Linked DNA regions of Homo sapiens: all the other regions are linked to region 3. Evidence: promoter capture Hi-C in human tissues and cell types (Jung and others, 2019). All regions are on one chromosome and are shown on one strand. The core of a region is centred on a gene start or on the middle of the fragment in contact, and the rest is flanking DNA. Distances in the headings are between cores, read along the strand shown.

The links. Contacts are between HindIII fragments. The study calls those that stand out against the background at their distance.
Region 1: a fragment that was not itself captured here is called in contact with the fragment with the promoter of CDC14B in region 3 in 1 of the 25 tissues and cell types used here (spleen).
Region 2: a contact is called between a fragment that was not itself captured here and the fragment with the promoter of CDC14B in region 3, in 1 of the 25 tissues and cell types used here (dorsolateral prefrontal cortex).
Region 4: a contact is called between a fragment that was not itself captured here and the fragment with the promoter of CDC14B in region 3, in 1 of the 25 tissues and cell types used here (dorsolateral prefrontal cortex).

Annotation. Positions count from the first base shown.
Region 1 is chr9:97,634,155-97,640,198 of GRCh38, forward strand. The region is part of intron 1 of NCBP1 (nuclear cap binding protein subunit 1); the gene reads left to right. Among named protein-coding and RNA genes, the nearest start is that of NCBP1, 3.4 kb to the left of the region's middle. RefSeq lists enhancers at 1-527, 85-164. The HindIII fragment of the contact is 3,183 bases long and covers 2,665-5,847 here.
Region 2 is chr9:95,500,032-95,505,919 of GRCh38, forward strand. All of the region lies in intron 2 of PTCH1 (patched 1), which reads right to left. Among named protein-coding and RNA genes, the nearest start is that of PTCH1, 6.3 kb to the right of the region's middle. RefSeq lists a silencer at 5,861-5,888. The HindIII fragment of the contact is 6,964 bases long and covers 1-5,888 here.
Region 3 is chr9:96,617,370-96,624,122 of GRCh38, forward strand. CDC14B (cell division cycle 14B) reads right to left here and starts at 2,474. Exons shown (of 14, transcript NM_033331.4): 1 at 1,850-2,474. The coding sequence starts at 2,009. RefSeq lists an enhancer at 1,625-2,125. The HindIII fragment of the contact is 32,033 bases long and covers 1-6,753 here.
Region 4 is chr9:95,093,019-95,099,788 of GRCh38, forward strand. FANCC (FA complementation group C) reads right to left here. Exons shown (of 15, transcript NM_000136.3): 15 at 6,036-6,770. It also overlaps a transcript of AOPEP not described here. Among named protein-coding and RNA genes, the nearest start is that of MIR3074, 10 kb to the left of the region's middle. The HindIII fragment of the contact is 4,225 bases long and covers 233-4,457 here.

The DNA of each region.
Region 1 (6,044 bases), core at 3,006-5,505, 1.0 Mb after region 3:
CATGGGTAGACCCTTGGTCTCTAAGGATGCTTCAGAATTTCGTCCGTAAAACCACGGAGCAGGGAAGCACACCTGTGTCTGTGCTGCCGCCTCTTAGGGACCCACTGGTCCTAGTGTCTCGTTTTAACCTTCAAAGCTGCACCTGAAAAGGGCTCGGAAGAATTCACTGAAGGAAAGGACTGAGAGATCTCATGAGTTGCAGTCTGAACTCTGTTCCGGTAGTGGTTATCCGTTGATTTCACTTCTTTCAAGCTGCAGGGAAAGAATATTGTCTTACCTGCGCCCAAGAGGTCCCTAATAAACAGACACAGGTTACTGCAGATTTTGAACTGGCCGTAAGCGCATTTCCCTTGTGTGAGAGAGAGTGCTAGAAAACTAACTTCAGGCCTCTGAGAGAGTTAGAACAGGGGTTCCCATCTCCGTTTGGATGATTGTGCTCGTGGAGATCAGTGTTGCCTTCATAAAGATGGAATAATTCTAGTTTTAACAACAACAAAAAAAAGATGCTTATATTACACATAAGCCTTACAATCGGTCAAAAACACAAATCCACACACCAAAAAAGTAAAACTTAGAGTAATTCTATTGTTAACATTTTAGTGTATTGTTTTTTGAAGAGAGTGTATAGTAGTGGTTAAGAGATGAGACTTTGGAACCAGAGGGTTTAGGTTCAAAGCCAGACCCTACCATTTACTTGGTGATCTTGTCCAGGTTATGAAATCTCCTTAAACTTTAGTCTGTAATACAGAAGTAATGATATTTATATCTTCTGGTTTTTGTGAAGGTTAAATGAGGTAATACACATCAGCAACAATGATGTTTTATCATTTGCCAACGCTTAAGAGGCGGTAAACGTTAGCAGATGCTGTCAATGTAAGAAAAAAACCCATAACAGACATTTTAAATTGAGTAAATTTTATCTACTAACGTTTGTCTCTCCTTGAGTGTTGTGGCAGTTGAGGTGGAGGCAGAATCGCATGCATTTAGTTTTAATAGTGAAACACCAGATTTCTACGAAGGAATGGCTTGAGAGGATATTCTAGTCCAGCTTTCTATCTGACACCTAAGGGTCTAGAGACTGAGCATAACTAAGATGGAGGGACAGCTGTCAGTTCCCAAACACCAGCAAGAGCGAATCCAGTCCGGGGCTCTCTTCACTACACAGGTATAAATTAAATAACTATGCTGCGTGCTTTGATTTCTAACACGAGGTTTCTTGTGTAACCTCTGTACAAGGCACAGAAAATACAATTCCCTCCCTTTTTTTTTTTTTTCTGAGACGGAGTGTCATTCTTTGTCAGGCTGGAGTGCAGTGGCGCGATCTCGGCTTACTGCAACCTCCGCCTCTCAGGCTCAAGTGATCCTCCCACCTCAGCCTCCTAAGTAACTGGGACCACAGGCGCGGGCCACCACGCCCGGCTAATTTTTTTTTTGTTTTTGTATTTTTTGTAGAGACGGGGTTTCGCCACGTTGCCCAGGCTGATCTTGAACTCCTGAGCTCAGGTGATCCACCCGCCTCGGCCTTCCAAAGTGCCGGGATTACAGATGTGAGCTACTGCGCCCGCCGATAATACAATTTTCATATGCTTTGTAATTGACTAGTCAAAAACTAATATACTTCTCAAGTCATTACTTGGGGGCTGGAGAACTTGAGTCTTTTGTTCTTTTCTTTGTTGTTCTAATGCTTCCTTTTTCTCACTTAGAGGTAATCCCTAAAGAGAGAGGAAATGTCATTGTAGGGCATCCTAGAGAATTGGAATGCTAATATGTAGAAAAATAACTTTTGCTTTGGTTATTGGGAGACTTACATAACTTTCTTGGAGTTGGCTTGTTTTTAACACCAGCTGGCAGCCAAATCACTGTCCATTTGGGTCTTGCCGCGAGAACCTCAGAGTAAATAAGACAAGTAAAACAAAGCATTCATTAAGCAAAGGTTTTTATGGTTGATATTTTAGTGTGGGAGAGGCAGATACAATTCATGTTTGATAATACAGCAAATCTGAAATTTTTGTCAGTTGCCACAATTTGGATAACGATCGCTGGAGTTTACCCTACACAGTGATCTGAATCAGATTATTTTGGATGCTTTCCTTTTAGTTAAAAATCTATTTTTTAAAAAATAAATCTTAGAAGCTTAAGGATTATAGAAGGCTATTTTAAAATAGGGTAGGAATTATTACAGTCAGAATTAAATAGATGCATCTGAGCATTTCTGGACAATTGTCAGCTGCTGTCAGTCACTGCCCTGACTTTCCGTATGCTTGACTCTCTATATATAGAGTGTGTGTATATATATAAACTATAATAGAATGTATTATATATATTTATATATTATATAAATTTATATTTATATATTATAAATTTATATTTATATATTATATAAGTTTGTTTATTATAAGTTTTATATAAATATATACTCTAATATATATTTTACATATAATTATATACTGTATATATAGAAGCAAGCATATGGAAAGTAATACATATATATATATATATATATATATATATATATATATAAAATCATTTATTCAACAAATACTTAACAGTGCCAAGCTCTGTCCTAATTACTTGCCATACAGCAGTGGACAATATAAAGATAGAGCCTCCCCTCTAGAGTAGAGAGAAGACAGTCAAGTAAAGTATAGTGTATCATATAGTGACAGGCGCTATGGAGTGATACCAGGTAAAGAGGGGAGAGATTTCTGTGAGGGAGAAGTTACTATTTTATGTAAGTTGATTAGAGAAGGCTTCGGTGTGAATGGCATTTGAACAAAGACTTGCCGGAGGTAAGGTAGCAGCCATATAGCTGTATGGGGAAAAGCTGTGATCCAAAGGTAACCATGGGCACAAAAGCCTGAAGACTATAGGGTTCCTGTCATGTTAACAGAAGAGCAAGGAGGCCAGTGGTGCTGGAGCAGAGTGAGTGAGGGGGAAGTTGTAGGAGATAAGATTAGAGAGATAGCAGAGGGTTGCATCTTATAGGGAGATTATAAAATTATACTTCTGTGTTGAGACTCGACTATCAAAGATTAAGGGGGGTAGGATTAGGAGGCTATACCAATGAAGTTCATGTAGTAGTCCATTTATAAACAAGGAAAAGGAAATGCTAAATGGAAAGTAATGTGTATGGATACTAGTCCAGTGCTAAATCTTAACTAATTGCTTAGACTTGCTTTAAAAATGTCTCTGAAGCTTTTTAGTTACTATGGGATATGCAGTCCATTGTTTGTTCTTTTAAGAAAGTATTTAGATTGTTCAAAATCTTAGCTAGAAACAATACGAATACAATTTTGGGAATTTGGGCAATTTACAAAAATTTCAGATTTGCTGTATTAGCCCCATTTAAGCTTCTTAGAATTAGGTCCTTGTCTTTTGGACTGTGGCTGATTTTTTTACTTAACTAAAGAAAAAAATAGAAGTGAAAGGATTTGTTATTTTGAGAGAGTATAGTTTATTTCAGAAGTGATGGTTGCCTGTTTTAAGTCTGCGGGCTCAAGGCATGTTATCTTTCAAGTTGTTCAATATCAAAATAGATGAGCCAAAAAGAAGGGAACAGTGTGCTTAAGGTTTAAAAACGTAATGTTGAAGTTGTTGGTTTTAGTTACTTTACTTTTCTATTTTACAGGGTTGGTTTTTGTTTTCCATTTTGTGGGTCTAAAATTTCTTGTAAGGCTATAAGATGTACAGTGTACCCGTATAAAATTAGGATTGACTTATAGAGGGGAAATTTATTTGGTTTATTAAGATCCTTTCAGATGGATTTTATACCTGCTTCTCTATACTAGCCAAGTCTGTCTGAGTGAAGTGGTAATGTTATCTTTAATTTACATTTTAAAACTTTTACATAGTTAAATTTTAATAAAAAATCTGTTCTTGCCTTGGGAACTACCATAGATACGTTTTCTTCAGGGTACATTGAGCGAATTCCCCAAATTGTATTCGTATTGTTTTATTTCATTTCCCTGTTCCCTTACCCAGGTTGTCTTATGAGTTCAATATCATGTTTCTGTTCGTAAGTTCAGATTTTGTCTGTAGTCTTCACCCCTTTATAGTCTCTCAACTATCAGGTGAAAGTGGAACATTTCTTACCTCTTAATACTTTCTGCCTCCTCCCATTCTCCAGACAAATATTGTCCTTTAATATAGCCAAAATGAACAAAGGGTTTGCAGTTCAGAGATGTGACTATGTACATGTATTTTCTAGTTGTTTCTCAGAAATCATACCTTCTCTTCCCACAGCACTATTTTCCCCTTTTCAAGCTTATAAGAGGGCCTAGGAGGGTTGCTTTAAAGGCTGTGGTATGATTCCAAACTGGAACAAGCCAGCTGGAAAGTTAAGTTAGGAAGACTGTAGAGGTGGAATAAAGGGTTGGCAAAATAGATGAGCCAGAAAGAAGGGAACAGTGTGCTTAAGGTTTAAAAAACAGCAACAAAAAATAACTGCTCTCATTCAGCTAGTTTTTCAGCATCTGCATTCTCCCAACCTCACTGAAATTTGGTTCTGAGGAGCTCTGCTTTCTAGAATACGGTTTCTTAACATCAGCACTATTGACATTCTTGGCCAGTTATTTGTTTTGGGAGATGCCCTATGCAACGTGAGATATTTAGCAGCATGCCTGGCCCCTACCCACTAGATGCCAGTTGCTTCCCCTAGTTTTGACTACTAAAAATGTCTCCAAGGTTTGCCAGATGACCACTGGGGGCAAAATCTACACCCTGTTGAGAACTACTGCTGTAGAAGAAGGCTATTTGAATGTCCTAGCTGGCAGCTTGCGTAAATATTACATCAATTATGCTTTTTTTCAATAAGTGAATCCTGGAAATGAAAGACCTTTGTGTGAAATTTGGCACTTTGGGTGGTGGAACCTTGATAGGTCCTGTGACTTAGGTTTGATCTATACTTAAGAATCAAGGTCCCTGAACCTCTGTGCCACACATGTCTACAACTTTACACAGGCAGATATCTCCAGGAATAAATACATCTCAGCTCTCATGCTGCATGCGTATTATACTTTTTGTGGCATTATCCTTTCAAAATTATAGTCAGTGGACATTCAGTCAGGTTATCATGGTAATTAATGGGTTGGGAAGTTGACGTACAGAGTGTCTTACCCTGTAACCTTTATAATACCCCCCCTCAGATCCTATGTGGATAGTAATAGATTCGTTTTATTCAGCTTCAGTTCATGTGGTATCTGAAGATCATTTCAGTCATTCAATAGATTTAACATTCCAAGCTTAGAATAGCCAGGTGCTGTGTTTTATGAGAATCACCATACATCATTTTCAAGCCAAGTGTTCCATAGGCAAGTAAGTGATTATGAACTTTGTAACAATAATTCCTTTGGCTGTTCAGATCTGAAGATTGAAGTTATATGTAACTTGCTACTGTGTAACCATATATCCAACTGCAGATTTTCATTATTAATACCGATTCCCTGCACAGTTACAGGCTCTTGCTTTCTTGTCCATATGCCGACCAAATAATTGAATCAATGGAAGTCGAAAATTGGATTGTATTAGACTAGCCAAAGTGTTTAGCAGCAGCATCAGGTTCCATACTTAACACTATTATTTTAATTTTTTAAGCTTTATGTTATACCACAAAAGGACTTAGGTGAGTGTGTTAAGGCTTTAAACAAAGTGGTAAGAGATACAAACAGCAAGGGTCTTAATAGACAGGTGTTTGAGGTTAATTTTTAGCACACCTTCATTCAACTTGAATTGTTGAGCAATCAAAAAGACAGATGCTTGGTAATGATTTTAGAATGGTAGATTTAAAAAACATAGAGATTATTCGAATGATATGGTTTTTAAATAAAGCAGTTATCAGTAATTCAGTTAATAAAAGCTAGTTAAAGCAGGAATTGTAAAACGTGGTCCTTTTTTCCACCAATTTTTTGATATAGTGCTCAGGACTTTTCTTTGAATATACGTATACTGACTGTCGTTCCCATTATTTAGGATAAACTATACCGTTGTGCTGCATCATATGCAGAACTGAAATTGTTAATTGAAGACTTGAGATTAGAGCTTAGAAA
Region 2 (5,888 bases), core at 2,055-4,554, 1.1 Mb before region 3:
AATGAAACATAAACATGGCATTGTGGAAACCAGACAAATCTCCCATGGCTTGTCCAGCCAGCATTAATCTCGGCATCAGCTGTGGTGCATAATCTAAACACACGGATCAGGCTGTTCATACATCTGGAAGCTGTCATCTTCTGGAACCTCTGAGCGGCATCCTATGTATCTGAAACACCCCATTACCCAACCTGTCCTCTCAACTTGGTGAAGGGTCAAGAATGGCAGACAGCAAAGAGATAGGGAGGATTCGCAGGGTCAACTGCCCTGTGTAGAAGACACCTGAGGGCTATTTGTTCTTTTTTAAACAATCATTGGTGGCTTCTCATTTCCAATCGTTTTTCTCCAAATATGAAAGAAATATCACAACTGCTTCCACCTAAATGTGCATACCCAGTAGTAGAAACTAATAAATACCTATAAACATATTCTCCCTTCTAAACCATGTATGGGGGTCCAGGGAGCAGAAAGGAGCTGCATTTTTCTTCCTGTCCCTTGTGAAATGCCCCCACAATGGCAACCCCAGAGAAAAGAAACCAGGTGCTCACTGTGGAAGGGCAGTGACAGCAGAATCCATTCTGCCCTTCTGGCTGGGACTGGTCCCTTGCTGTCCCTTGGTTCTGCTCCACAAGGGCTCCTGGGGGGACAAGGGGGAGTGGTTTGTGACAGAAACATCTGGAGGAGAATGAGACCACCAAGGAGTTCACACACTAGCCGGGCTTCTGAAGGAGCTGTTATTTCAATATGCACAAAGGCAGTGGTGTCTTCTATTAAAGCTTTTCAGAAAGTCAACCATGCTAAAAACCTTCAGGCTACTGGGGTTGAGGTGCAACCAGTCTTTCTGCAAATTTAGATACCCCCCACCAAAAGGTACCCAAATATAAATTATTTCTTTCTTCCATGGCCTCTTTCCTCTTTCGACCCATCACGGTGTTTTTCTTTGACATTTAATGTCATTCTAAGAAAAATAGTTATCTGGGTCTATAAATACAGGAATGGGATGGGGGAGTTATCTTAAAGAAGATTAATACTCTTGCATCTCTGCAATGCATTGTAGCCACAACTCCATCATAATAAACGTCTTCCATCTGCACAGCATGAGTCTTCCAATCAAAATCTTTTTATCATCTAAACCAGTGGGTCTCAATCGTGATGATTTGGGACACCCTCTCCCCCAGTGACATCTGGCAATGACTGGAAACATTCTGGTTGTCACAACTGGGAGGGTGCTACTGGCATCTAGTAGGTAGAAACCAGGATGCTGCTAAACATCTTATAGTGCACAGAACAGCCCCCAACAACAGAGGATGATCCAGCCCCAATGTCAATAGTCCTGAGGTTGAGGGACCTTGCTCCAAATTGAAGGAGTGGTGAAACTCAGTTATCTCCTACAACTGATTGCCTGAGTTCAAGAACACTGAAAGCATTAACACTAGCAAGGTACAAACTTGAAAGCACTTACACATACCAAGCATGTATTTTAAAAAACAATTTCTTCTATTTTTCTTAAAAAAAAAAAAAAGTCAAAGTCACAACTTGCCTCCTTCTTCCTTGACGCTGGCCTGCAGCAATGTTAACATCCAAACACCAAAGCAATATGGATTCATTACAAGGCTGCTGCCCTCTGCAGAAAAGGAGGCCAGGAGCTGGGCAAGCTTTTAGAAAAAACAAAAAGCTCAAAGAAATAAATGAATGTTCTATCGCTGGAGAAGCTTGACAAGAAACTTGTTCTGAGGGAGGGCTGCAGTGAGGGGGCTGATATGAAAAGAAATAGATACTGAGGGAGATGGGTTAAAACTGCTTAACAAAAAGGAAATACCAACAAAGAAACAGGCAAGATTAAAAATAACACCAGTCTGTGCCCAGAAAGGTGAGATCCAGGTGAAGCATTCGTGGCTCCAGGGAAAACACTAGAGGCCAACACGTGAGCACACTCGTGAGACAGGGATGGCTAGTAGGAAGAGCTGACAGCCCCCAGCCAAGCAGGGAGACTTCTGTGAAATGGCCCTGAGGGACGAGCCCAGCTTCCAGGCTCCCACCCAACCTCAACGACCCACAAAGGGAGGCTGCCCTCCAGGAGGCCACATTCCTGTTCTCTGAGCCTTTGCCTATGCTGTTCCTTCTGCCCTGAATGCCCCCTACCCTCTCCCCTCCAGCCCCTGTGCCTAGCTCAGGCCTCCACCCTTGAGGCCATCCTGGAAGATGTCCCCGATTTTCCTGCCATCTTGGCACTGCTGTCCTTCATGTTAACTACCCACACACCAGTCCGTGTACCTGCTGAATGTTTGGATGGAGTTCCCCTGAGGGCAGAGACTGTGGCTTTTCACCAACATCTCTCTGGAGAGCTTTCTGCAATGGTGGTGCAGAGTAGGTACTGAGAACATGTGCAGAATGAACGCTTCTATTTTTATACAATGACAATTAGTTTCTCCCCCACCTTGCTGCCATGGTCATGTGTTTCTGCAACAGCAGATGTCCACTACATCAGTCAACATATTCTCTATCAAACCTCATTACTCCGCACATATGTGAAACTGATTTGACAATTTTGATTAGCAAACACTATAACCCTAAAACTCAAGCTGGTATCTTAACATATAATTGACAGTTTATTAAAAGGCAATCATTATATGGACATTTTAACAACAGAATACAATAATTCTTATCACCAATTCCTACACACGCACACACACGCGCATGCACACACACGGACTCTTTCTCATCTAGCATATATTAGTCTGCACATTGTGGCTGATGTATTCTGCCCTCTTTATAAAGCCAACTCTTTATAAAGCCACATTTCCCCAGCATGTTAAACAAAGCATGAAAGTCAATTTGAAGACACAGCCTTTCGAGTGGATCCCTTTAATTTGCTGGCTGTATTAAAAAGATAACATTAACATGCCTTTGGCAGATAGGAGGATATGCAGAATAAGACAATGTGCATACACACACACGCTCCTGTGATTTTAAACCGCAGGAGAAGGAGCTTCTTCCAAACTATCCCTCAGCATCCCTCTCCCCTTAAAATCTCATACTTTCCTCTCTTCTGTTGTTTTCTAACTAGGGCAATATGCTACCTCTATCCATTTCGTTTGTGTAGCAAGCACTCTGTTGATGCCCAGTTCATATAAAAATTCATGTCTAGAACCTTAAGAACAACCTACCAAGAAAGCAGCATCTAACAGATTTCTTTGCTGATAGTGATGAGGAATTTATCTATGAGACTGATGCACAAAATGAACTTAAATGTGGAGCTATTACTCACTTCAATTCACGGACGTCCACTGAGGTATAGGACAGCAGGGAAATCTTACTCCTGAATGCAAATGCTCACACTACTTACTGCTGACGTGAACACTCAGCTCACTCTGTCACAAACAAGATCTCTACACAATCACTTCTGCTTTGAAAATGAAATTAAATCTATATGGCTACTGTTGTATAGTCACCTCTCTAGTTGGGTCTATCTGCATTTATGAAACTGTCGCTTCTTCTCTAGGGGGAGAATCTAGCACAGAATGAATGAATGAATGAATGAATGAGAGATCAAGGACAGGGCAACAGAACAAGTGACTTATGTCATTAGTAGGCAAAGTAGACCTGGAGACAAACAGACAACCCATAGTTTCCCATCTGTAAAATGGGACAATCCTCATCATAAAGACATTACATCCACTATCATGTTATAAAAACAAAATAGGGCCGGGCGCGGTGGCTCACGCCTGTAATCCCAGCACTTTGGGAGGCCGAGGCGGGTGGATCATGAGGTCAGGAGATCGAGACCATCCTGGCTAACAAGGTGAAACCCCGTCTCTACTAAAAATACAAAAAATTAGCCGGGCGCGGTGGCGGGCGCCTGTAGTCCCAGCTACTCGGGAGGCTGAGGCAGGAGAATGGCGTGAACCCAGGAAGTGGAGCTTGCAGTGAGCCGAGATTGCGCCACTGCAGTCCGCAGTCTGGCCTGGGCGACAGAGCGAGACTCCGTCTCAAAAAAAAAAAAAAAAAAAAAAAAAAAAAAAAAAAAAAAAAAGATAATAATAGCTATTTTATTGAATCGTAAGGCATGCGATAATATATAACAAATGCCTGGTACATGGCAGTTGCTCAACAAGTGACAGTATTAGTACTGAGTAAATAACATTTGGCCCAAGACCAGTGAGTCATGCTGAAACTGCCAAAAGTAAGCAAAGTGAGTGTGCCCCTCAGAAGTGTCCTCATCCAGTCCATTGAAAAAGAAAAACTTTACTCCCTCTCACTACACAACTGGCAGCTCCCATAAAACTGCTAGGAAGCACACTGCATCTCCTTCCAGGACTTGAAATGGGTCGTGTTATGCAGAAAGCAAGTTATTTCCAGAAATATGCAATGTTAAGAAAATAAATCACATTCTATCTCCTTCAACATGTCAAAGGTCCACTGAAAACTCTTGCTAAGAACACCACAAAATCACGTTTTGTCATCCTCATCCGATGGCAACAAATACAGGTTGGATCAAGTGGTGGATGAGCCGGCCCTCCCTGTGCTCATGCCCTATTCTGTCCAAGAATCTACGGCAGCGGCCCTCCCTGTCCTCATGCCCTATTCTGTCCTAGAATCTACGGCAGCGCCCCTACAGTCTAGCCAATCACATCACTTCCAAACTCCTCAGCTGGGGCCCCTGCTGGTGTCCCGCCCATGCCTAAAATGCCCTCCTTCCCCTACCGTCTCCAGTTCTCTCCCCCCACCCCCTACCACCCTCTTGTAACTTTCACAGCCCATTTCAGCTGTGAACCCAAATGTAGTCCAAATGCATCGAATTCTAATAGTTTTAAATTGTGCAGTGTCGCACACACTTGAGTCTCTTATGGTGCTTAACACAGTGCTAGGGACATCATAGGTGCTCAAGAAACTTGTTGCTAGGAGCATAATAGCTGCTCGATAAAACCCTTCTTTTATCTACCAGTGATACTGAATCGCTGAACTGAGGTAAATTACTCCATGGATTCAATCCAAAGAACGCTTTTGTATTAATTACCAAACTACTTAAGGCAGGAATGTTTTGTCTTAATTATGTAGACTATTATTTTAATTGTCACTTCTCAACTAAATACTCCAACTCCACCCCAGGCTTGCAAAACTCTGCAAGCTGAATCTTCACAAACAAGGAGAGATTAAGGAAATATTCTTCAAGGTCTCCAACAGCATCCTGAAAGGGATCACTGAAGCGATTATGCGCATAACTCTTCAGCTTCCACATGCTGTCCGGAGGAATGCTCCAGGTATTTTGGTTTGAATTATCTACCTAGTCACCTCTACCCTCCCCTACTACCCTCTTGTAAGGTAAGGGATGCCCAAAGTGGTGTTTAGGGTTAAAGTGTTTCCAAATAGCAGGATTTGGAACTTGCCAAAAAGATAAATAAGAAACCAGCGGGGGAAAAAAATTGAAACCTTTGTCACCAAAATAATGTAAAAATGTTTGTCTTCGAAAAAATATATATCTATTTTAAATCTGCAACTGCTTTGCTAAGGTCTCAAGAACCCCAAAACTGAGGAACGTGGATAAAAGACTGGCAGAACCCCTCTGAGAGGTCCCTTCAACCCCGCGTTCTTAAAACATTTCTTTTCTTTGCCTGCAAAATGCAGCCTTCCCCCAGAATAATTCCATGTAAAAAGCCCCCACCCGCGAGGAAACATTAATCTACTTTGCAAACATGCGTTCCAGTCTGTGCCTTACTATTTTTTTTTCCACTCCTTCCACCCCCACCCCGCGTTTTTTGTACCTTGAGACAAATGTTTTTTTCCCTCAGAGTTGAAAGCTGTCCAAAAACAGGACCACACACGCCGCCGCCTCCGCAGCCCCGCGCTGCGCCCGCCCCCGGCCCTCCCCAGCGCGGCGGCCGCGGCCG
Region 3 (6,753 bases), core at 1,224-3,723:
TTGAAAACCCAAATGTTCATCAACAGGGACTGTCTAAATAGGTTAAAAAACATTCAAATCTACATAAACATTTAAATCCATACGTACTTGTTAATGGTTTTATTCATAAAACCGTATGTACATTGGCCTAAGCAGTAATTAAAATCAAGTAAGCCAGTCTTATATGCACCAACTCAGAACAATCATTCTAATAAGAAACACTATGAAAACGGAAAAATGTGCAAAACAACATGTGTGCTACTCGCACGTGTATGGTAGAGAATATATAGTATATATAGTATGCATGCACAGCCTATTTCTAGAAGGCTTCACAAGAAACTGGGAAGAGTAGTTGCCTCTAGAGAAGGACACTTGGAGACTGTGAGACCAACTTTTCTGCACGTACTCCTGTGCACCTTTAGAATTGGAGTTCTGTACCATGTAAATGCATTACTTGTCCTAAAATTAAATCCCATTCAACACAGATCCTTTCAAGAGGTATAAACAATAACGGGCAGAAACTATGTATAGGCCCACCCGTTCCCAGCCCCATCCGTCCTCGGCGAGGCCCTCTCCTGGGAAGGGCACAACGTTAGCGGGACTTGGCTTCTCAGTCTCAGCAGGCTTCACCTCCCGCACACCCCCCGCAGCTACCGGCCGGGGACTGGTACTCAGGGCAACCCCTTCCTATGCCCGCTCTGGTTCCCAAGGGCCATCCACCAAAGCCGAGAAACCCGCTCTGCTCTCAGCTTCATTTCAAAACGAACTTAGTTTCCAGATTGTCCATGAACCTAGAATATTATTTCTCCTAAACGTCTGTGTTTGTCTAAACACTTCCACTTAATGTTCTCGCCACTCCAGCTTACCTGGTTTATCAAAGGCTAGGGGCTGGAAACAGTTTTTAATAACGCCACGCACCGAGGTTGACACATTCCCCGCCACTGAAAACAGACTGCCAATTCCCTCAAAATCGTGGACAGCTCTGCTGTTTACACAGCGTTGCCACATACATCATCACATTTAATGCCTTCACACGCGTCACTGTCAATCCCAGCAAACCTAACAGCTGCCAAATTGGATTTATGAGTCTCCAAGAACAGTCGAATCAGCACTAACAGAACAGCTATCGAAGGGCTGCTTGGCTACCTGCTCTGGCTGGCTGGGATTTCTCAAAAGTGACAACCCGGACATTCGTCTTGCCGGCTGGCTCGAATGCCACCAACGTGACACCTTCCTTCTCGAGGCCCCGGCGGGGAGCGGACCCCGGGAGGCGGAGGCGTTCGGGGGGCGCGCTAGGGGGCAGGGCGCGGGAGGCCCAGGAGAGGGGCTCGGGCTTACGCGCCGGACGGGCAACGCGGCGCCCAGGGTCCCAAGGCTACGGAGCAGCGGGGGTTTGGCCAACGCCAAAAAGGGGCAGCTCCCGTGCCAGGCGCGTTCAGCGCGCTCGGGGAATCCTCAGGGGCTGATTCAGAGGTTGTGACTCGCGCGAGGGCCAACCGGGCTCGCAATCCCTGAAGGCGGAATCCACAGGAACTCAGAAGCAGCCCGCGGGGAGGAGCTGCAGGTTCGAGGCGCCGGGCTGACGCCCGCAACTTAGAAAGGTGACCCTCGGTCCATCTTGCTGGTGGAGGAGGGTGCACAAGCTAAAGTTAAAGCTCGCAGCCCACGCAGCTAGAAACTCGGGGCGGGGGGCGCTCCTCAGGAGCCAGGCTCCTAAAGGGGGTGTGGCGGCCGGGGCGTTTAAGGGGGTGGGGGCGAAGGCATTTCGGCCCGGCCCCGGAGGCCCCGGGCAGCCCGGTGGGAGGTGGGCCAGGGCCCCGCGCCGGGTGCGGCCGTCCGGGGCCCTCCGCGCGCCCACTGGCCGGCTCACCGGTGATGTCCAGGTACACGTCGTCCTGGGGGTCCCGGCGGCGCGGGTCTTGCTGCGTGGAGCTGCGGATCTTCTTCACACCCGGCGAGGTCGACGAGCAGCGCCGCGAGCAGGGGGGCGCGGCGGCCCAGCTCGACCGCCGCTCGCTTTTCCGCTTCATGGAGGCGGCCGCGGCCCGTCAGGGGGCCACGACCATGGCCCCGCGCGCCCGCGCGCCCGCCGAGGCTCCCGCCAGCCCCGCGCGGGCGCTCGGGGCGGCGGGCGCAGAGCGGCGCTGCGGGGACGGCGGGCGCCGGCAGAGCCCGGCGGGAGGCGGTCGCGCAGGAGCCGGAGGAGGAGCCCGGCCCACAGCGCCTGCCCCGCTGCCTCCCGCGGCCGCCGCAGGACCGGCGCCGCAGCCCTCGCTACAGCGCCTCCTGCCGCGGCCGGCGCCCCCAGCCCGCCCCCAGGTGCCCGCAGCCGGCTGGCGCGGCCGAGGCGACGGGGCTGCAGCTGGCGGCCGGAGCTGCCCGGGGTAACCGTGCGTGCCCACCGCGGCCGCGGCCGCTGCTGCGTAGGCGCCGGGGCACAGCAGGACGCGGCTCGTGGGGACCCCAGGAGGGCTGTTCCGTGGCGCTTCATTCACAAAAAAGGGCCCACAACCCTCCTCGGGGCCCGCAGACTGAGGCCTTTCATTGGCCAATGCGGCGTGACGTCACGGAGACGGGGCCTTTCTACAGGCAGGTACTCGGTGACGCCATAAAGAAAACTCTGAGGGCTTCCGCCAATCAGAGATAAAGTGTGCTAGCGACCTTCGCCAGCCCCCCAACTTTTGTTTCTTCTGTGTCCTCCAGGTGCCAGCACCCCAGATCCCAACTTTCTTTAGTGAGTCACCAAACATTTACACAGCCCCACCCTAGTAACTTAACTCCAGGTCTTTGGCATATATATATCTTAAAGTATTTCTTGAATTTCCTTGTAATTCGCGCCAAGAGAAAGGGACTTTTGCCATGGCTGCCAGCTTGGAAGAGGATGGCCTGATTACATTACCTGCAGCTATATAGATTTAAAGTAGAGTTGATTTCAGAACTTAAGTAAAACTATTTAAACAACTACGCTCTATTTATCGACCTATGCCCAGCATTCAAACAGGCCAAGCAAGGGCTTCTTAAGGACCCGATGAAACTTCCGTGGAACCACAATATACCGTGGTTGTTTGCACCTCAGAGTTTCTCATCTCGGAATCCAGCGCCCACATTAATTCAGTAAGTTTATACACTCATTGCTGTGTATACTGAGGTGTCGACAGGTCCGATTATATCATGAAGTATTGAAGCAAGGGGCAAGTTTTGTCCTTAAACTTCTTTATCTGGCACACTGTAGGGTCATATCCTCTTCTTTTTCTACTGGATTAAAATAATGCCCTATCTTCCTGGAACTTAACCAAAAACTGTCATTTTGGAGGGCCTTTAAACAAACGTCCATGGTAGCATCTAAAAGGGTGAGAAGATTGGAGGGCAGTGTTAAGATTTCACGGCCCCAAATTTTACAACATCTGCAAGCTGTCCCTATTTTTCACCAGCACTTGAACGTTTTATCCTGCAGTTCCGCAGTTAACTGCCAGCCTGGGGAAAAGAAAGATGAATTTGAGTCAGTCCCCTTGGAAGCCTCTCAGAAATGCAAATTTTCATAGAGCACCTCAGGAAGGGGCTCTTTGACTTCTATTGTTGTGGGCTTTTACCTTAAGCACGGCTAAATAAGGAAGTAGGGGGGCTGTGTCTGAAGCTAGAGATCAGCAACTCTGTAAGCACTTTTTCTTAAGGTTGGTTCTCCTGTTCACTCTTCCTCTGTTTCCCCTAAGGAAATCAGTGAAGGCCTTAAATTTAAAATGATCTACATGTCTGTCTGTAGGGGCAGCAAAGAAGCTAGAGACGTGGGAGGCTGTGCGGCGCTGCGCAAGTAAGTTTTAGAGAGCAGAAACGGTAGGGTCACAGTCCTTTGTTTTGACCTGGAGGAGGAGGAGGAGACCTTTCAGACCGGCCTAGGGGCTCAGCATTGGAAAGCCACCCAGTTTCCCAGACTACCAGGGATTTTAAATGAGTGGGTCTTGTTTTGAATAGATATTACAGGAGAGTGGTCCGTGTGGCTCCCTGGAAGTACAGAGAAACTACCTCCATGACATTATGATCTTTTGAGAGTAATTTGTTTAAATGTCAGGAGGCAGAGGTTGCAGTGAGCCGAGATCGTGCCATTGCACTCCAGCCTGGGTGACAGAGCTAGACTCCGTCTCAGAAAAAAAAAAAAAAAAGTGTCATAAATACAGATAATTATACCATTTAAATATTTTCATACTTTGCAAGTATATAATTTTATGCTTTGTATAGTAGGAACAGACAAAGTATAGGACTACACTTTGTAATTACGCGAAAGTATCTTCCCTTCTTGTGAATAGGAAGTCTGTGTGCTGAGTATACACATTAAAGTTTTAAACCCTATTTATATTTTGTTTTTAGGTCATGTTTAGATAGAGGCAGAAAAGTGCTGTTTCCTAGCTGATACTTGTTTTGTGTGTGTGGCACTGCTCTTGAACTGTTTGACTCCTCCCCCTCTTTGATAAGTTGACTCCTGGGCTCTGAGAATTTGGCCACAGGAAATGTATTTTAGTTTGCTTCCCTGGTTAGTTTGTTGTTCATTGCTTGACGACTCATCATAGAATTTTAGAGCTTGAAAGCTCCTTAGACAATATTTGGTCCAAGGCTATCCTTTCACAGTGAGGACACGGGGACCCAGATGAGTGGCAGTGGCCAGGCTGGGGTGGGAACCAAAACTCTCTAGGATCTGGCTTGTCTTTTCCTGAACTGTGGCGCTTAGGGAACAGATGCGTCTGGTTGATTCTCAACATTATGGCAGCACAATGAAAAGGAAAAAAAAAAAAAAAAGGAGGGATTCTCTAAAATATTCCTATCTTTCCTAGGTAAATTTACCCTGAAATGAAAACAACTGTGGAACATTTTCTTTTTTTTTCTTTTCTTTTCTTTTTTTTGAGACGAAGTCTCGCTCTGTCGCCCAGACTGGAGTGCAGTGGCGCGATCTCGGCTCACTGCAAGCTCCGCCTCCCGGGTTCACGCCATTCTCCTGCCTCAGCCTCCCAAGTAGCTGGGACTACAGGCGCCTGCCACCACGCCCGGCTAATTTTTTGTATTTTTAGTAGAGACGAGGTTTCACCGTGTTAGCCAGGATAGTTTCGATCTCCTACCTTGTGATCCGCCCTCCTCGGCCTCCCAAAGTGCTGGGATTACAGGCATGAGCCACCGCGCCCGGCGGAACATTTTCTTATATGTATATTCCAGATAGAGCATATTCTGAAAATGTGAAATCTTACGCTAAAATCAGTAGCAACTGGTTGATAGAGACGTGATATGAATTTCAAATAATGTAAGTTTCAGAATCCGTGAATTACAATTTTAATTATGTGAAGATAAATAAGTTGTACAAAGTCAATTTCCATAAGTTGGTTAATTTCATAAAAAGTTAAATTTGATAAATATGGTACGTTCCATAAGAGGTTAAATTTCCATAAAACTAGAGGGCTTAGGTGGCAGTCATATGGGAAAACGGGCACACACTGAAGTCTTCACTTTCATATATAAAAAGAGTTGGTTTTGGCCGGGCGTGGTGGCTCACATCTGTAATCCCCGCACTTTGGGAGGCTGAGGCGGGCAGATCACCTGAGGTCAGGAGTTCAAGACCAGCCTGGTCAACATGGGGAAACCCTGTCTCTATTAAAAATACAAAAATAAGCTGGGCGTGGTGACACGTGCCTGTAATCCCAGCTACTTGGGAGGCTGAGGCAGGAGAATTGCTCCAACCTGGGAAGCGGAGGTTGCAGTGAGCCAAGATCACGCCACTGCCCTCCATCCTGGGCCACAGAGCAAGACTCCGTCTCAAACAAACAAACAAACAAAAAAAGAGTTGGTTTTGTTTCATTGGCTATCCTGGCAATCCCAACATTAATCTGAAGTCTGCCATGTTCATGCCCCTTAAGATGAAAATCTTTTAGAACCATAAAAATGGAAGGAATGAATGTTTGTTGAGCTACCAGCAAATACTAGACATGCTAGGGGCTTCATACTCATGCCCTGTTCCGTGGTATTCTCATTTGAGAGGTCATGGCAGTTACCCTAGGTCACTAAATGAGTTTGGTTTGGAAACCCAGGATACAGAACCACACGTGGCTCGAGTACTGAGGGGCTGGCATCATTCTTCATTGACAAGAGCAGGATCTAAAGGGATCCTGCCTTGCAGGTGGGCTTCTGAAATTAAATAACCTGTATAGTTGTGTAAAATGTCAGAAACTTGGATGAACGCCTTTGGATCTCAGACCACACCGTAATATTGTAGGTTTTTAAAACAATATTTCTGCGGTTGATTTGTTTTTTGGTTATATACACTCCTGCTTTAAAAAATAACTACAATCATGCATCACTTAACGATGGGGATGCTTCTAAGAAATGTGTCATTAGGTTATTTCATCATTGTACAAATATTGTAGAGTGTACTTACACAAACCTAGATGGTATGGTCTACTACATACCTAGGCTGTATGGTAGAGCCAATTTCTCCTAGGCTACAAACAGGTACAGCATGTTACTATACTGAATACTGTAGGTGACTGTAACTGGTAAGTATTCATGTATCTAAACATCATCTAAACATAGAAAAGTTACAGCAAAAATATGGTATTAAAACCTTATGGGACCACTGTCCTGTATGTGGTCTGTTGAATAAAACATTGCTTTGTGGTACATGACTGTAAATAAAATAAATAATAATAATGAAATGCCAGGGGGCAGGGGTAGGGGACGATGAGAATTCTGGTTATTTTAAGTCTTGTGTTCAGAGTATGACTGAAGATGCCTTTACCT
Region 4 (6,770 bases), core at 1,095-3,594, 1.5 Mb before region 3:
GCCGGAGTCCGTTTCAGTGATTGCTGATGGAATGGAACAAGTGTGCATTTATGTTGGGTTGTAAAGAAAACACAGATAATTTATGGGGAAGGAGCTATAGTTTGATGATTGTATCTGCTTTACTAAGTTAAAAGCGTGGAGGAAGTGACTGCAGAAACTTGGTTTTAGCACAGCTGAGGCAGAGGACTTGCGTACAGGAGGAAAGCCATGATGAGCACAGGGCCCTGGCAGATGGAGGATGGGTCTTTGGAAAGCTGGGTCATGGCCCAACAAATGTCAGGGCACATGCGTCCAGTCATAGTAAGTAGACTTTTTCTAGAAAATTCTGTCCAATGGTAGAACATAAGTCCTGTGAATAAGAAACAAAAGCACCACCACGGTGACTACGGTGCAAGGATCAGAGATGGCGCTGTCTCCTTTTAAAGTTACAGATGGTGCCTGGCCTCCTTCCCTTCAGGGCAGCGTTTAACGGCAGCCCTCTCTTAGAGCAAACAAAGAGTCTTCCTTTGCATACTTGATAACAACTTATTTTTCTCATAGATCACACATGCAAACAAATATAGGTAATATGTAAACAAAAAGTAAGTTTTCTCTGCCTTTTCAGCTAGTCTCTTCCCCAAATCACTATAATGAAGTTGATTACCGTCTCCACCCTGGCGCCGGCAAGCACGTGTGCAGGCCCTGCTTTATACACGGAGGGTGGCACAGTGTTCACACGGGTCTAGATTGGCACGTACATAACGCTCGCTTCTCTGTGTCGATGGCTGCATTGCATGGACGCGCTGTAACTCGAGAGGCAGTGACACCCCACCTTCTGGGGGCTTCGTTCAAGTCCCAGCCCTGCTAGATGGCCTCAGTGTAGCCTTGGGCACATTATTCGGCCTCTCTGTGTTTGCATTTCCTCCTCTGTAAGCTTCAGCTGACTTTGTTGGGTCAGTGTGTGTGAAGTGGACAGCAGGCCCGGGCTCAAGGGTAAGAGTGTGCACTTGCTTGCACGCAGGCTTTTCCTTTTTTTCTCTCGTTCCTCTCTCTCCCCCACCCCTTTCTTGCTCTTCTCCTTTCTCTCCCTTTCCTCCCTCTCTGTTTCCTTTCATTTATATCTTTATGTGAACCTCTGAGTTGCCCCAGTGGTTGTTGGCTGTCGCATCCTGCACACGCACAGGCGCCGGCATATCCACGGGGAAAGCCCTAGATGTGCGCACTAGTGTGGATCCCTGCAGTCTGCAGTGGAGGGAGTGGGGTCAGGAGAACTGGGTGTCTGCTCCTTGGAGAAAGGATATATAATCTTTTTCGATCTTAGTGCTTTTATTACAGCAGAATACACATAAGATTGACCAGTATAACCATGTGTCAGGACCCAGCTCAGCAGCCTCGGTGTCTTCATTGTTGTGCAGCTCACCACGATCCGCCTGCAGAACTTTTTCATCTTCCCCAGTGAAACGGGACCCATTCAACACTCGTGCCCCACTTCCCCTCCCCCAGGTCCCTGGGAAGCACCATGCAGCTTCCTGTCTTTGAGGCTTGCCTGTTTTAGGGAGCTCATATGAGAGGATTCATAAAATCTTTGTCCTTTTATGTCTGGCTGATTTCATTTAACATAAAGTCTTCCAGGTTCCTCCATACTGTGGCGTGCTCAGGATCTCTGCCTCTTTTTTCTTTTTTCTTTGAGACAGAGTCTCACTCTGCTGCCCAAGTGGAGTGCAGTGGCACGATCTTGGCTCACTGCAGCCTCTGCCTCCTGGGTTCAAGCAATTCTCCTGCCTCAGCCTCCCGAGTAGCTGGGATTACAGGTGTGCGCCACCATGCCCAGCTAATTTTTGTATTTTCAGTAGAGACGGGGTTTCACCATGTTGGCCAGGCTGGTCTTGAACTCCTGACCTCGTGATCTGCCTGCCTGGGCCTCCCAAAGTGTAGGATCTCTGCCTTCTAAGGCTGAGGACCATCCTGCCATACACACAGACCACGTTTCCTTTCTGCACTGGCTTGGCTGCTGGCGGATGCAGCTGTCTGCCTCTTGGCTGTCCAGGAGAGTGCTGCCAGGAACATGGCGTCCAGGATTTCCTCAGCTGTTACTTTGCATTCTTTTGGGTAAACATCTAGAGGCAGAATGGATAGATCAGAGTTCTAGGTTACCATACTGTTTCCAGAGTCAATTTTCTATTTTGATTTTTTTCACCCTATCTTACGGTGCTGATAAATTTGGATGTTTGACAGGCTGTCCTCCGAAAAGGTGGTACCAGTTTCCTGTCCCTTCCTCTGCCTGTTCCGCACTCTGTCATCAGCATGGGGAGCATCAGCCTTGAGTGTTTCCCAAGCTGCCGTGGAGATGGTTGGGAGCACCTGGGCTTCTGCCACGCTGTGGAAAAGCCCCTGCCGTCCCGTTCCCTGTGTCGTGTGTGTCCCTGCCCGTGCGTTTCGAGCTGGCAGCTGTTTCCTTACTGATGTGTAGAAGAGCTTTAGAAGTTAGGAAATTCGCTTTTTTCATGTGCTGCAAATACTTCTTCTTCCCTCAGTTTACCATGTGTATTGAGATACTTTGGTGAGTTTGCTTTTGATTTCTGTATGGCCAGTTTTACCCACCTTTTCTCCTGTGGTTTCTTGCTTTTGCGTTGGGCATGGAAAGGGTTCCCTGTGGCAGACACAGCCAAGGGAGATGCGTGGGGGGTCCCCACGGCCTGGCCTGAAAGGAGGCATGGAAGTCCGCAGGGATGCGCTGGAGCCTTGGGTCCCGCCCCCTCTTCGTGAGATCGGCATCCTCTCAGCTCCCCTTCCTCCCTCCAAAGGACTGGAGAGTCTGCCCTGAGGCAGTGACCTGCACGCAGGGGTGTGGGTGGGCCGGGAGGGAGTGGCCGGGGCTGGACAGGGTGTGACCATCTGCAAACCACTGAGGAACAAAGAAGTTCTAAATGAAAGACCAGAAAATGCTTTCTGCATTTTGGGAGGAGGGAAGCTTCAATTTTATAAGCGAAATCCTTATTTATCTAAGTAAGTAATGCAGCATCTCCCCAGAGTGGCTGCAGCCTCCCTGCCTCTCCGAAGCAGGGGAACTGCTAGAGGCTTCTCAGAACACACAGATCCCAGAACGAGCCATGCTCCAGATGCCGACGCTGGGAAAGGCAGAGGGCTGGGGAGCTTATTCTGTAACAGTTTTACTCCTGATACCATCTTTTCCCCGTTGATGGCAATGTCTTTATCTTATACTAAATTCTGTACATGTACACGTGATTTACTCGGCGGGAGATGATGTCTGAAACCTAGGCAGTGAGTAGCGGGGAGTGACAGAGGGCCAGCTTCCTGGCTCCCCGACGGGCTGGATGTGGAGGTGGGAGAAAGGGAGGGGTCAAGAGTGGCTTCAGAACTCGCCCTGAGTCCCTGGCAGGATGGAATGGCCATCGGCAACATGGGGAGCTGGTGGGTGCGGGAGGTGGGTGGAGCAGGTGGGCCCACCTGGGATGTGGTAAGCAGAGAGGGTCTTCACACCGCCAGTGGTGATGCCCAACAGGCGGCGGGCTCTCCGGGCCGGTGATCCAGGGGCAGGTGTGGTCCCTCTGCCTAGAGATGCCATGTGAAGCCACGGGCAGGACAGGGTCCAGCCTCTAGGTGGAGTCCAAGGGCGCCCACCAGGAGGGGGTCAGGAGAAGAGGAGGAGCATGTGAGCTGGGAGGAGGTCGGCCCATGAGGCCTGAGAGCTGGCCGCTGGCTGCAGCCACGGGGGCCCTTTCAGCCCCACCCATGTTTCCCTTCATGAGAACCTCACACCAAAGTATGTGTCAGTGCGTGGTACGCTTCACTTTCAGAGCTTGCCTGGCTGTTCATGAACGTTTACTGTCCATATGAATGTTGGAATCAGGTTGTCTATTCGCTGTGTCTACAACCGTTAGTGTCTGTGTCTAGGATGTCGTTCCAGAGGGAGAGGCCAGCAGTTACAGCAGTACCCTCGGTTGGAAGGGGATTGGGCAATGTCTGGAGAAAGTTTTGTCACCACTGGTGGAAGGGGTGCACCGGCACCTAGTGGTGGAGGCCAGGATGCTGCCAACACCCTGCAGTGCACAGGACACCCCCACAACAGGGAGGCATCTGGTCCAAAGTGCTCATGGTGCTGCATTTAAGAAACCCAGATTTAGGTGCCTACAAAACATCTTTCTGAAAAGGCTCACCTCTGCCTGTTCTGGTGCTGGCTGCTGGGCTGTTTCATGGGACGCAACCTTCTAAAATGCTCTGGCATAGGCTAAAGTATAGATGCTGTAATGAGCTGGAGACATTTTTATTGTCTCCATTTGCCCAGTGTTTGGCCCCTTCCTGTAGTTGGGTGATGCTTTTGGTGGTATCCAAGGTACCCAATAACGTTAAAGAAGCTGAAGCCAGATGCGTGATTTCCTAGCATCCCTGGCAGGCCTTTGACCCAGGCTCCTCCATCTGATGCACCTGGGCAGGGGTGTGGAAAGGAGTGGGCACAAGGGCCTTTCTCCCGGCTGGAGTGGGGTCCGGAAGGGCTGGGCAGCACGACTGGCCTTGCCAGAGCATCTGAAGCAAGGCTGGGACTGCTGCTGGCCGGCTCACACCAGGCCTCATCAGCCCAATACCTTTTTCATCAGTTCCCCTTTACTTTCAGCATTCAGTGCACGTTTCTGTTGCTTGCAACCAAAAGTCCTGGGTGAACAAATTCCCTGCCCAGAACAGCAAGTGCAGTAAGACACCATGACAGGAGCGGGAGGGAAGGCCTTTGCTATGAGCTCTCCATTACCAGTTTGGGCTTGAGGGGTGTGATTTGGACCCATGGTATAAACCAATTGTGGAACTGGATTTTAGGAGGAGGCTTGAAGACATGTTATGTACTTACTGTATCTTAATTTTTGTTCTTTGGTTGTAAAATGGCTTAGCGATGATTAATGACTTAGGATTTTTCGACAAAATCTACGGATTTCCCAACATTTGGCAGAGGGAAGAACTTTAGCACCCGAGCCCCCGGGCTGGGGGAGGTGGTCCTGGGCTGGAAACAGAGGAAGAAAAAGGCGAGGGGAGAAGCACGGGGAACTGTTTCTCTTCTTCCTTGGAAAGCAAAAAAATTTTGGATTCCTTGTTGAATAAGGAGAACATTCCTCACATTTGCTCCCACTGTGCAAATCCTCCAGTGCATCCGCCGTCCTCTGGGCAGCGTAAGGCCAGGCTCGGTTTTGACTTCCCAGCATTTTGGGTGGATTCACTCTGCCAGGCTCACCAAGGTCCCTTCTTCTCTGGCTTCCCTGTCAAGACCCCATTCGTAACTTCTCCACTTCAACAGAAAACTCGGCTTCCTCCCATCCCCTGGACTAGCTCCCATTTCTGTCCTAGCTCCCATTTCTGTCCTAGCACCTTGTCCCACCACTTAGACACCAGGCAGGACAGGGTGAAGAACAAACCACGAAACCCTGCCAACCATGGCTGCTCCAGTGAGAGGCTCCTCAGGAGTGTCTTAGCATTTCCTGTCTGCTCCCTCAGGCGCCCTCCTGACCCCGAGAGGGGCCCTAGTGTCCCATAGCCGGAAGCATGGGGAGTGCTGGAAACCCCACTGCAGTGGGGGTCCTGGGGGTGGCCACGGCGCTGCTCGCCTTGGCCGCATCACTCATGCCTCCCAGAGGGGCCTGTGGGGCTGGAGGAGGGGACAGCAGCCTGTGAAGCAACGGAGCGAGCAAGAGTGGGTGGGCTATGCTGGTGGGACGAGGCCTTCAGCTTCAGGGATCAGGGAAGAGACAGAACAATTCAAGTGAGGCTTATGGTCAAGCCTGGCTTAGAGAAAACACAGATATGAAACGCATGTAACCTGATCTTGGCAGGCCCTGCCAGATGCCTGCCCTTGTCCTCCTGCTTCCTCCTTGGTGACAGGACCCTTAGTTTTTAGGTATTTAGTAGCAAGGTTCCCAGGCCCAGAGGCTAAGCCATCCTCGGTCTCTTCCAGGGCACATCTAGGTTTCCTGAGGCCCGAAGCTTCCACTGTCTGGGGCCATCGGGGGAGCTTTTTCCTGAGAGAAGGATTGTAATATTTAATGGATACAACATTAGGTGCAAACTGAAGTTTTATTTAGAATGAAAAAATAGACAACAAATTACAGATTTTAAAGAGCTAAAAAATTCCACAGATGTCACGGAGTCCAGGGGAATAACAGCCTGGTTGGAGGGGCGCTCTCCGCCTCTTCTGTATTTTTGGCTCTCTCTGAGGGTAGTGGTTTTACCAGCATGCTTTATCAAAAACTAAACTATCAGGGAGAGTCTACAAAAACTCCTGCTAGAGTAAGGTCAGATTCCAGACCCTGTCGCACCTCTGAAGACCTTGGTCCAGTTCCTTCCAGGGTGGCTTCACGCCTTGCCATCCCTGCCTCCCTGCGGCTGCCCCTGTGCCCAGGCCCCGCCAACGCCGTCAAGGCCCCCTCGGCCACGCCGCGTCCCCGCCCAGCATCTCGGATGCCATTCCTTCCCGGTGGCACCTGCCCAGGCTTTGCCGAAATCGAAGGCAACAAGAGGGGGAGGTGGGCTTAAGAGTGCCTGCCCGGCCGCCACCTGTCTTGGAGGTGGAGGGAATGGCCGAGGGGTGGCTCCCCCAGCTCCCCACCTTTGAGCATCTCTCAGGCTGGGAAAGGGCAAAGGGCCACATGAAGCCAGCAGGCACTTCAGTGCCACGTCCCCAGAGGGACAGTCCTCCCACCCAGGAACCCCTGGCTGCCCAGAAAGCACCACCGGCAAGGCCGCCTCCACCGCACCCGTGAGAGGACTCGGCAGCTGTGAAGGAACTGGGA